Linked DNA regions of Homo sapiens: regions 2 and 3 are each linked to region 1. The links are contacts of gene promoters, found by promoter capture Hi-C in blood cells and fetal thymus (Javierre and others, 2016). All regions are on one chromosome and are shown on one strand. The core of a region is centred on a gene start or on the middle of the fragment in contact, and the rest is flanking DNA. Distances in the headings are between cores, read along the strand shown.

What was found. Contacts are between HindIII fragments. The CHiCAGO score rates a contact against its expected background, and 5 or more counts as called.
Region 2: a contact is called between a fragment that was not itself captured here and the fragment with the promoter of ASPRV1 in region 1, in 9 of 17 cell types (total CD8 T cells, naive CD8 T cells, total CD4 T cells and 6 more). The highest score is 9.4, in total CD8 T cells.
Region 3: a contact is called between a fragment that was not itself captured here and the fragment with the promoter of ASPRV1 in region 1, in 2 of 17 cell types (neutrophils and monocytes). The highest score is 21.5, in neutrophils.

Annotation. Positions count from the first base shown.
Region 1 is chr2:69,959,662-69,963,844 of GRCh38, reverse strand. It overlaps ASPRV1 (aspartic peptidase retroviral like 1), which reads left to right and starts at 2,214. Exons shown (of 1, transcript NM_152792.4): 1 at 2,214-3,756. The coding sequence starts at 2,409. The coding sequence ends at 3,188. PCBP1-AS1 (PCBP1 antisense RNA 1) reads left to right here. Exons shown (of 11, transcript NR_033872.1): 11 at 345-1,582. RefSeq lists a silencer at 2,034-2,328. The HindIII fragment of the contact is 12,271 bases long and covers 1-4,183 here.
Region 2 is chr2:70,196,032-70,200,214 of GRCh38, reverse strand. No RefSeq gene overlaps it. Among named protein-coding and RNA genes, the nearest start is that of C2orf42, 7.1 kb to the right of the region's middle. The HindIII fragment of the contact is 1,775 bases long and covers 1,389-3,163 here.
Region 3 is chr2:70,103,300-70,107,482 of GRCh38, reverse strand. No RefSeq gene overlaps it. Among named protein-coding and RNA genes, the nearest start is that of PCBP1, 18 kb to the right of the region's middle. RefSeq lists an enhancer at 4,001-4,050. The HindIII fragment of the contact is 2,573 bases long and covers 1,070-3,642 here.

The DNA of each region.
Region 1 (4,183 bases), core at 965-3,464:
CTTCTCTGGCCGCTGGAAAGCCTGGGACCTGAGGCCATTGAAGCTCCTGTGCTCCAGGGTCCTGGAGCGGAGCTGGTCTTCTTCCCAGGTTGTTATACTCCTCATGGAGGTGATGTGTGTAAAATGCTTTGCCAATGTGAACACCAAACCCACTCAAATGAGGTCCCAAGGGACCACCGATTTCTAGTCTAAGGGCAGTAGGGAGATCGGAATTCAACATCTACCACTATGGTTTGAAAAGCCGGTTCAGGGCATTTGGCAGTCCCAGCTTGTCAGCTGACAAGCCACCTGCCTCGCTCCTCCCTTGGTCGCATGCTAACCTCCTCACTCATTTCCACTTCCAGGGGACCAGATGTGCAGAGGTAATGAATACCAGGGAATCAGGAAACCACTGGATCAGTTCTTTGAGCCACAGAACAACACTCATCCCAGCAGCTGGGAAGCTATCTGCAAAAGTCCATCTGCAGAAAGGGCTTCCTGGTCTTGCGTGTGGCTGGGCCATTTCTCTGGATGCAGGTTTTTCATTATACAGTCTTCTCAAAGAACCACCTGCTCTCAACACCTTCTCGGTGACTCCATTTCCCCTCCTCTGGGCTCCTGGAATGCCACAATGGCCCCACCTTAGCCAGGCAGCTGTGATGAGAGGTGTTGACCCAACTGCCTCTCTGCTGGCTCACTGAATCAGGTGGAAGGGGCTGGGGACAGCACAGTCTTGCATTGTGGTTGGGGACCTGGGCCATCCAGAGGCAGGACTGTCCAAAGGCAGGGTACTGCTGGGATTCCGCCAGGCACTGGGTGATGCATGGCATAGGGAGCTGAAGAGGGACAGGCTCTTGGCCAGGAAAAACAGCCCCAGAGCCACAGGTGTGCCATCGAGTCTTCCTCCTCTCCCATCCTTAATCACTCCTGTTTGGTGACAGCACACAGCTAGGCCTGGAGCCCAGCAAAGAGCCCCTGGGTCCCAGAGGAAGTTGTTCTGGGGGCTGGAGACAATCACAAATGCCAGGTTTGTGAGCCCCAGACTCTGGTTCATAGCAAGAGGCAGACTTGTGAACAAACCACCAGATCACACCGTAAAACACGCTCAACGAGGAGTGGGTGCCCTTTCTAGGGACAGGCAGAAGGCTCCATGGAGTGACCTTTGAATGGGGACATAAAAGTGGATCCCTTCAACAGCCCCTGCACAGCCCCAAGTCAGGCCTCCAGCCCTTGGACTCACAGATGTCCTCTGTAGACGACTGGATGTCCTCCCGTGCTACCCTTTACCCCTGCAGCGAGGGGCACAGAGCCAGAGCCCTCCAGGTCCTCACCACTGGCATCACCAACATAGTGGACATTTTCCCTCTCAGAATGAAAAGGGAGTGAAATTTCCCGTGATCTTTCCACAAATGACCAGCTTGGGGAGTGGGAGAGGAAGTGCTGCAGTGCCTGGGGAAGGGGCCCTGGAACAGTTCCTGGAAATGGAGAGGGGTGGATAGGGTGGAGACAATGCTCATGGAGTGCAGTATGGGGCCTACCCAGAGTTGCTTGGCCACCCCTCTGCCTCTGAATCAGGGGTGATCAATGAAGGAAAATTACTGCAGCAGTTGAGTCCATGTAAGATGATTGTGCACGTGTGTGTGTGTGTGTGTGTGTGTGTGTGTGTCCTCACTCACTTAAAAAAGACCATTTCTGTGCATTCTTTATGCTGGAACCCTCCTCTGCCTCCCTCTCCAGGAAATCCCATAGGATCCCATACCTGCTTTAGAATGTGTGTGAGACACTTCCCAGTGCCTGGCATGTGGTAGGAGCTCAGTACATGTAAACTGTTTTCCTTTGACCACTCAAAGTAGTCACTTGTTGGGGAGGCCAATGGCGGCTTCCCCGGTCTCTGAGCTGATGGGCGTCTGGTCCCTGCCTCCCCTTCCTTCACTGGCTGATGACAAATACCTGAATGTCATCACATCCTCCGTGTCCTCATCTGTTATTCTGGAACACAGGCCAGGGAGGGTACAGGGTAGTCCCCCTTCAACAGAGGCTGGCCTTTCTTGGGATGTGGGCTGGCTGGTGTTGGTCCAAGGATGGATGCAGAGGGTGAGGCACCCATCCTGCTAGTCCGGCCGGATGCTGGCAGGAGGGCGGGGTGAGGAGGGGCGGAGCTTCCAGAACAAAGGAGAATGGGGAGCCCAGGGGCCAGCCTAGGCATCAAAAAGGCTCTGCAGAGTGAACAGGCCACAGCACTGCCTGCCTCTGCCCCAGCAGTCAGCCAGCCGACCGCGCCTGCTCCCTCCTGCTTGCCCAAGGCCGGGCAAGTCATCCCCACTCTGCTTCGAGAGGCCCCGTTTTCCAGCGTGATTGCGCCGACACTGCTCTGTGGGTTTCTCTTCTTGGCGTGGGTTGCTGCTGAGGTTCCAGAGGAGAGCAGCAGGATGGCCGGGAGCGGAGCCAGGAGTGAGGAAGGCCGCCGGCAGCATGCCTTCGTCCCGGAACCTTTTGATGGGGCCAATGTCGTCCCAAACCTCTGGCTGCACAGCTTTGAAGTCATCAATGACCTCAACCATTGGGACCATATCACCAAGCTAAGGTTCCTGAAAGAGTCCCTCAGAGGAGAGGCCCTGGGTGTCTACAATAGGCTCAGTCCCCAGGACCAGGGAGACTATGGGACTGTGAAAGAGGCCCTCCTGAAGGCCTTTGGGGTCCCTGGGGCTGCCCCCAGCCACCTGCCCAAAGAGATCGTCTTTGCCAACAGCATGGGTAAGGGCTACTATCTCAAGGGGAAGATTGGCAAAGTGCCCGTGAGGTTCCTGGTGGACTCTGGGGCCCAGGTCTCTGTGGTCCACCCAAACTTGTGGGAGGAGGTCACTGATGGCGATCTGGACACCCTGCAGCCCTTTGAGAATGTGGTAAAGGTGGCCAATGGTGCTGAAATGAAGATCCTGGGTGTCTGGGATACAGCGGTGTCCCTAGGCAAGCTGAAGCTGAAGGCACAGTTCCTAGTGGCCAATGCGAGTGCCGAGGAAGCCATCATTGGCACTGATGTGCTCCAGGACCACAATGCTATCCTGGACTTTGAGCACCGCACATGCACCCTGAAAGGGAAGAAGTTTCGCCTTCTGCCTGTGGGAGGGTCCCTGGAAGATGAGTTTGACCTGGAGCTCATAGAGGAGGACCCCTCCTCAGAAGAAGGGCGGCAGGAGCTATCCCACTGAGAAGCCACCTTTTCTTTAACCTCCTAAATATTGGTGGGAAGACCCACCGCTGTGGGGGGGGTTGCATATCCTCATGGGGGTCACTGGGCTTGGCCAGTCTGCTTATCAACTCTTGCTCTTCTCTCCCCTTTGCCTCCCTCTGCAGGGGCCTTAATCTGCCCCTGGTAGGGGAGGCTTCCACTGAACAGGCACAGGTGAGGGAGAGCAGGCTGGCTTAGAGGGACAGGGTCCCCATGGTCATCAAGCTGCTGTTGATGACAAAGACTCAAAGGCTGGAAGAGCTCCCAAGGAAGCTAGAAATGCTTGTCTTTGAAAGAACTGTGGGACCCCTTCAGATTCCCTGAGGTATGGCTTGGTCACTCTCAGGTCCTCAAAGCCTGTCTTAGTTGGGCTGGGTCCTAGCTGCAGGGTCTTTGTGAGGGTCACAGTTGCTCTGGGACACCTCCCTGAAGAGCCTTTCCACCTGTACAATCGTATTTTCTTTCTGTCATTTGCTTTGAAGCCCATTGTGCCTTATGCCAATAATTCAATTGCTGCAAACACCAATAAAGATTGATTCATGGAAAAACCATGTAATGTGTTGATTGAGGATGAGAGGAATGTGAGAGGGAGTCAGCATCAAAGACAAGGGAGATTCACATGTCTACTGAGTGCCTAGCTGGAGGTATAAGAACATATACACAGGGATGACAGGTCTTGGATTTTCTAAGACAGTCTCAGCATAAAATATTTTGACTTATTCCCTCCAGAATTGCTCTCATTATTTTGAATCGTCATAATTCCTCTACTTATTTCAATCTGTAGTATTTTAGCATACAAATTGCCTCTATACCCAAAAGTGACCCTAAAGTTTTATGTGAGATGTCTTGATTGGGGATTGGGAAATTATGGTTATGATAAACAAACAGGAAAGTGTCTGCTGGGCAAATAGGTTCTTACAGCTGTCCAGGAGCGAGAACTTGGAGGCAGAAAGCAGGGCCAGGAGACAAGTGTTG
Region 2 (4,183 bases), core at 1,027-3,526, 240 kb before region 1:
ACTCTTCCTGGCTATCACTCATCAGTTAATTAGGGTCTTTTAGAATTTGGTTTGGCTGGGTGTAGTAGCTCACACCTATAATCTCAGCGCTCTGGGAGGCCAAGGTGGTAGGATTGCTTGAACCTAGGAGTTTGAGAGACCAACCTGGGCAACATAGTGAGACTCCATCTCTACAACATAAAAAATTAAAATAAATAAATTAGCCAGGCATGGTGGCATGCACATGTAGTTCCAGCTACTTGGGAGGCTGAGGTAGCAGGATGATTTGACCCCGGGGAGTTGAGGCTGCAGTGAGCCATGATCATGCCACTGCACTCCAGCCTGGGCAACAGAGCAAGACCCTGTCTCAAAAAAAGAAAAATACAATGCCAAATGTTGCATGGGACACACTTATACTAAAAATAAAAATAAAAAAAATAAAAAATTGTTGTTTAGCTGAAATTCAAATTTAATGGAGTGTCCTGTATATTTTTTCTGTTGATTCTAGAGACAGTTGCAGGGTGGTGCAGCCAAAGCTGCCTTGGAGGCAGCTGCAGGTGGGACACATGAGGGGCAGCTGGGGCGGGTCCTGAGGACCACTGAGGTGAGCGCTGCTAGGGCTTCTGTACACTGATCCATTGGCTCCCACGCTGAGTATGAGAAGAGAACCAGAACCCATGAAGGAAGTGCCTTCCTTCCACTATCACTGCATTGTTCCCCAAGTGCCCTCTATTGACAAAGCGTAACATTGAGCCAACAAAGGAAAAATGTTTCAAAAAAAAAAGTGAATTGGGGGCTGAGAGACTCCCTTCTCAGGGCCTTGCACATGAACAGCTTTTCCCTATTTTGTGCTTTCAAGTCTCCACTTAAGTCACTTCCTCTAAGAGGCCTTCCTTTCTTCACTCCACAATCTAAATCACTAGCGTCTCAATCCATCTTATACTTTTCCTTTATAGCATTTGTCATAATTTTTAATTCTATTTAATTATTCATGTAGTTATTTATTTAAAACCTGTCCTCCCCACTAAACTAAAGTACTGATGACTATTTCCTTTTTTTTTTTTTTTTTCTTTGAGACAGAGTCTTGCTCTGTCTCCCAGGCTGGAGTGCAGTGGCACAATCTCGGCTCACTGAAACCTCTACCTCCAGGGTTCAAGTGATTCTTCTGCCTCAGCCTCCCAAGTAGCAGGGATTACAGGTGCATGCCACCACGCCTAGCTAATTTTTGTATTTTTAGTAGAAACGGGGTTTCACCATGTTGGCCACGCTGGTCTCGAACTCCTGCCCTCAAGTGATCTGCCAGCCTCAGCCTCCCAAAGTGCTGGGATTACAGGCATGAGCCACTGCTCCTGGCCTGGTGACTATTTCTTCAATGCCATAATATCCAGTACATGGTAAATAATAAAGCTTAATAAATGTTGAATTAATTGATTAATGAATGAGTTAATTAAATTGTTATTTCAAACAATCTAGTTTTGACCAAATGGCTTTCCACCTCGTGTGGACAGTACTACCAGCTGGAGTACTGGGAGTAAGTTAATAAAAAGCTGGCATTGAAGGACCAAATCAGGGCCAAGTTCTTTAAGCCATGTGATGTCATTTAAACTTTTTTTATCCTGAAGACCCCAGGGAGCCACTGATCCAATTTGTATTTAGTCAAGACGTGTTCCAGGTTGCAGACTTGATGAGCAGTTAGATGCATGGTGGATCCTTAGTTACTGGGATGTGAGAAGGCAGAGAAGCATGTTTGTGAGAGTGAGTAAGGACAGGAGCTATCATGGTGAGAGAGCAGGAGATGAGAGCAAATTAGTCTTACCTTTTTTTTTTTCAGACAGAGTCTCACTCTGTTGCCCAGGCTGGAGTGCAGTGTGTGATCTCGGCTCACTGCAGCCTCCGTCCGCCTCCTGGGTTCAAGCAATTCTCGTGCCTCAGCCTCCCAAGTGGCTGGGATTACAGGTATGTGCCACCACACCCAGTTAATTTTTGTATTTTGGGTAGAGACGGGGTTTCGCCATGTTGGCTAGGCTAGTCTTGAACTCCTGACCTCAGGTGATCCGCCTGCCTTGGCCTCCCAAAGTGCTGGGATTACAAGCGTGAGCCACCTCGCCTGGCCTTATCTTTCGATATGTGAGATTGGACGTGGGTGACACAGGTAGAAATATCCAGTAGGTAATGACATGGAATTTCGGAGGGTGATCTGGGCTGGATATAGAAATGGGAATCGTCTGTGTTTACGTGTTAGTTCAACCCTTGGAGTAGAGATCACCAAGTGAGATGAGGACTGTGGATAAAACTCAGGATCATTAGTGTTCAAGGAGGCAGAGGCAGGCCGGGTGCGGTGGCTCATGCCTGTAATCCCAGCAATTTGGAAGGCTGAGGTGGGCAGATCACTTGAGCCCAGGAGTTCAAGACCAGCCTGGGCAACATAGCAAGACCTCATCTCTACAAAAAATTAAAAAAAAATAGCCAGGCATGGTGGCATGTGCCTGTGGTTCCACCTGCTCAGGAGGCTGATGTAGGAGGATCATTTGCGTCCAGGAGGTTGAGACTGCAGTGAGCTGTGATCATGCCTCTGCACTGCAGCCTGGGCAACAAAACAAGACCCTGTCTCAAGAAAAAAAAAAAAGAGAATTCATGTGTTTTTGTGCATGTCTATACTGTTTTTCTAGGATACTTAGAAATTGAATGGGTTAAGGAAATGTGAATTGTAAAAATTGTATTGTATAGTGCCAAATTACCCTCTTAAAATGCTGTATATCAAAAAAAAAAAAAAAAAAAAAAAGGCTGTATACCAGCTGGGAGCGGTGGCTCACATCTATAATCCCAGCACTTTGGGAGGCCAAGGCAGGTGGATTCCCCCGAGGTCAGGAGTTCGAGACCAACATGGTGGTTGGTCAACATGGTGAAACCCTGTCTCTACTAAAAATACAAAAATCAGCCAGGCGTGGTGGCGCACACCTGTAGTCCCAACTACTGGGGAGGCTGAGTCAGGAGAATTGCTTGAACCTGGGAGGTGGAGGTTGTAGTGAGGCAAGATTAGGTCATTGCACTCCAGCCTGGCTGACAGAGCGAGACTTCATCTCAGAAAAAAAAAGGTCATATACCGTTTTACGCTCCAACCATTTATGTCAGAAAGCTCTTATTTCCCTTACATTCCTTCACCAATGCTGGTTGTTATCAAGCTTTTATCTTTTGCCAATCCAATGAATGTAAAATAATCTCTTTAGCTGTATTTCCCTGATTACAAGTAAAGTTAGTCATTTTTCATGATAATTGGCCATTTGTATTTATTTCTGTGAGATATCTGTTCATATCCTTTGTCTATTTCTTCATTAGATTGTTTCACTGTTTTTTTTTATCAATTAGTAAGAATCCCTTATATAGTTTGATATGCAAAAATCCTCTCTGAAAAAATGTGTCCTCCACCGAGGTCACTCAGGATTACCTCAGATTAAAATAATCATTTGAAGCCAGGTGTGGTGGCTCACACCTGTAATCCCAGCACGTTGGGAGGCTGCGGTGGGTGAATCACAAGGTCAAGAGATCAAGATCATCTGGCCAACATGGTGAAACCCTGTCTCTACTAAAAATACAAAAATTAGCTGTGTGTGGTGGTACATGCCTGTAGTCCCAGCTACTTGGGAGGCTGAGGCAGGAGAATCACTTGAACCCAGGAGGCGGAGGTTGCAGTGAGCCGAGATCGCACCACTGCACTCCAGCCTGGTGACAGAGCAAGACTCTGTCTCAAAAAAATAATAATAAAATAAAACAAAATAATCAGGTGTGAGTTCACAATAAAAAACTATCAAACACGGCCAAGCGCGGTGGCTCACGCCAGTAATCCCAGCACTCTGAGAGGTGGGCAGGTCACTTGAGGTCAGGAGATCGAGACCAGCCTGGCCAACATGGTGAAACTCCATCTCTACTAAAAATACAAAAATTAGCCAGATGTAGTGGTGCATGCCTGTAATCCCAGCTACTCGGGAGGCTGAGGCAGGAGAATCACTTGAACCTAGGAGGCAGCGGTTGCAGTGAGACGAGATTGCACCACTGCACTCCAGCCTGGGTGAGAGTAAAACTCCGTCTCAAAAAACAAACAAACAAAAAACCTATGAAACACATGAGGAAACAAGACTCTACAAGAGATCCAACAGAAACAAAGAACAGCAGAACTGGACCTACAAGAACTTTAGAAAATCACATA
Region 3 (4,183 bases), core at 1,107-3,606, 140 kb before region 1:
ACCACCGCCTGGCCCTGCTAAGCTTCTTGAAGGAGTAGCCCAGAGGCAGTCTGCATATTGTCACCTCTCCTCAACCATCACAGGCGGCTTTCGCCCCAGCCCAACAAAGATACTCCCCACACTCACTAAGATCACCAATGACCTCCTTGCCACCAAATCCTTCCTTTGCTCATTTTCTTTTTCTTTCTTTCTTTCTTTCTTTTCTTTCCTTCTTTCTTTCTTTCTTTCCTTCTCTCTCCTTCTTTCTCTCCTTCTTTCTCTCTCTTTTCTTTCTTTCTTCTCTCTCTCTCTTTCTTTTTTTCTTTTGAGGGGGACAGAGTCTTGCTCTGTCGCCCACGCTGGAGTACAATGATGCAATCTCGGCTCACTGCAACCTCCACCTCCTGGGTTCAAGCAATTCTCCTGCCTCAGTCTCCCGAGTAGCTGGGATTACAGGCACACGCCACCACGCCTGGCTAATTTTTGTATTTTTAGTAGAGACGAGGTTTCACCATGTTGGCCAGGCTGGTCTCAAACTCCTGAGTGCAGGTGATCCACCCACCTTGGCCTCCCAAAATGCTGGGATTACAGGCATGAGTGAGCCCCTGCGCCCGGCGCCTGTTACAAATTAATAACACTAAAATAATAGCATTGCTTTGTGCCATTATTCCTTCATTCATTTAAAAACTTTTATTGAGAAACTACAATGTGGAGGCACTGTTTCTTAAGCTCTATGGCTATTTTTTTTTTTTTTTTCTGAGACGGAGTCTAGGTCTGTCTCCAGGCTGGAGTACAGTGGCTCGATCTCAACTCACTGCAACCTCTGCCTCCTGGGTTCAAGTGATTCTCCTGCCTCAGCCTCCCAAGTAACTGGGATTACAGGCATGTGCTGCCACACCTGTCTAATTTTTGTATTTTTAGTAGAGATGGAGTTTCACCATGTTGGCCAGGATGGTCTCGATCTCCTGACCTCGTGATCCGCCCACCTTGGCCTTTCAAAGTGCTGGGATTACAGGTGTGAGCCTCCATGCCCGGCCAGCTCTATGGCTGTTATGAACAAAAGATATGTGGACTCTGCTCTCATGAAGCTTACATTCTAGTAATAAGAAACAAAGCCAGGCACAGTGGCTCCCGCCTGTAATCCCAACACTTTGGGAGGCCAAGGTGGGAGGATCACTTGAGGTCAGGAGTTCAAGATCAGTCTGGCCAACATGGTGAAACCCCACCTCTACTAAAAATACAAAAATTAAGGCCAGGCATGGTGGCTTACGCCTGTAATCCCAGCACTATGGGAGGCTGAGGTGGGCGGATCACCTGAGGTTGGAAGTTCGAGACCAGCCTGACCAACATGGAGAAACCCCGTCTCTACTAAAAATACAAAATTAGAAGGGCGTGGTAGTGCATGCCTATAATCCCAGCTACTCGCGAGGCTGAGGCAGGAGAATTGCTTGAACCTGGGAGGCAGAGGTTGCAGTGAGCTGAGATCGCGCCACTGCACTCCAGCCTGGGCAACAAGAGCGAAACTCCATCTCAAAAACCAAAAACAAAAACAACAACAAAAATTAGCCTGGCATGGTGGCACGCCCCTGTAATCCCAGCTACTCGGGAGGCTGAGGCAGGAGAATCGTTTGAACCTGGGAGGCAGAGGTTGCAGTGAGCTGAGATCATGCCACTGCACTCCAGCCTGGGTGACAGAGTGAGAAATGAGATGTTATATTTAAAAAACTTCCACTTCTTTTACTCTTTTATTTTTTAAAATTTATTTATTTATTGTTTTCAGACAGTCTCACTCCGTCACCCAGGATGGAGTGGAGTGGTGTGATCTTGGCTCACTGCAACCTCCCCCTCCTGGGTTTAAGAGGTTCTCCTACCTCAGCTTTCCTAGCAGCTGGGATTAGAGATGCCCAGCTCCAAGCCAGGCTAATTTTTGTATTTTTAGTAGAGACAGGGTTTCACCATGTTGGCCAGGCTAGTCTCGAACTCCTGACCTTAAGTGATCCCCCCACCTCGGCCTCCCAAAGTGCTGGGATTACAGGCGTGAGTCACTGCGCCCTGCCAAAACTTCCACTTCTGATAGCAACCACAAATATGAAATATGCAGGAATAAAGTCGACCAGTAATGTGAAAGACATTATGAAAAAAAAACATTCAGAGAAATAAAGGGAATCTTTAAAAATGGAAAGAAACACTATGTATACCTAGATTGGAAAATCTAATATGAATTTTAAATTTTAATTTATTTTGGAAATACTTTGATGTAATAAAAATCAAAAGTTTAAATCAGAAAAAATAATTTTATTTTTTATTTTTAAATATTTTCTGACATATTCTGAGTCTGACTTTTGTTTGAGGAAATAATTTTAAAATGTTGAAAAATGGTATAAGACTGGTGCTACCAGTCATTACCATTTAGTACTTGGAAGTGATAACCAAACAGTGTGGAGCTGGCACAGGAAAAGACAGGTATGTCAGTAACACAGAAAGAAAAGACAGGTATGTCAGTAACACAGAAAGAAAAGACAGGTATGTCAGTAACACAGAAAGAAAAGACAGGTATGTCAGTAACACATCAATAGGAAAAAGGATAGATTACTTAGGGAATGACAAAATGTTTCATCTTGATGACAAATCTCGTAGGTTGGAGGTAGCTGCTTGCAGTTCTAATCGGGCTGTGAGGCCTAGTCTGAGTTTAGCCAGGAGTTCTGCATTTGATTAGAAATGTCTTCCGGGGGCCCGGGAAGGGGAGACAGATTCACTCGGACCACATATTTTCCCTTCTTGGATTATTCAATAAATATCATTGGACAACGAGCCTGCAATTTGGGGAAAAAAAATTACTAGCTCTTCCCATCATATATAATATATACCCAAGTAAATGTCAGATGGTTTAGATTTAAATAGTATAACAAAATGGAAATATAAAATACTAGGAGGAAAAAAGAGGAAATTTTGAAAAACAATTATTGAAGTTAGGGAAGGACTTTCCAAACCTGACTTTAAAGACAGAAACCATAAAGTTAAAGATTGATAGATTTAGCTACTTAATCATTAGACACTTCTGCAGAGCAGAAGTTAAAAGAAAACTGACACATTAAAAAAATGCATTATATGTCGAAGCGTTAATATTTTACTGTATAACGAGATCCTCAATCATTAAGAAAAATACGAACACTCCAATAGAAAAAGGTGAAAAAGATACGAATAGGCAATTCACTAAAGGAGAAATGCAAACAGCTGAGAGATACATAACATTTCTTTTTACTCACCAGTAATCCAAGAAATGAAAATTAAAACAATGCTATACCATTTTTTTCACCTGCCAAACTGGCAGAGAAAAATCTCCAGTGTGCTTAAGGATGGGGGAAACAACACTGAAATGGAGAAAATCCCAGCTAACTGGGCCTAGTCACTTTGGACACAAATTCTACTTTATAATGGTTTCCTATTTCAGAAAGCAGTCAAGCAGTAGAGGCATTTACTGGAGAGATCTGCAAAAGTTGAGAAAGGAGAAGACCTCTATGGCTAAACTATAATTCTGTAAATTTGTGGTTAGCAAGAATATCCTGTCAGACTGTTAAATTCTAGTTTCCTTTTCTTATTCTAAAACATCTTTTCTGAAGAAATGGGTCATGAGGGCTTAGCCTATTTTCCCCTAACAAAGCTTTAACATCTTGGATACCCAAATCCCTTGTTAAAATTTTGGGTATAAACTGGCCCCACCTTAGGGTACAGTGAGACAGCCCCCTACTGGGGATCACAGCATTGGCTTGAGGCCAAGAAGCCCACCCAGATGGGCCACTTCCTCCCCTGTGAGGAACAGGGGACTCACAGGTCTCCAGTCTTCTAATCCTGATCTGACACAGGTACAATAAACTCCATGTTTGTCACCTTGTTCTCAGTGGTGAGCTACAAAAATTAGCCGGACGTGGTGGCCGGCGCCTGTCCCAGCTACTGGGGAGGCTGACGCAGGAGAATCGTTTGAACCTGGGAGGCGGAGGTTGAAGTGAGCCAAGATCGCGCCACTGCACTCCAGCCTGGGATAGAGCCAGAAAAAAAAACAACAACAGTGCTCTTATAATAAATAAGACAAAATGCCCATCCCAGAAAGAAAACATGCAAAGGATATAAAGAGGTGGTTTATAAAAGAAAAAATATAAATTCAAAAATCATGAACCTTTCAGAATGCAAATTAAAATCACGAAGA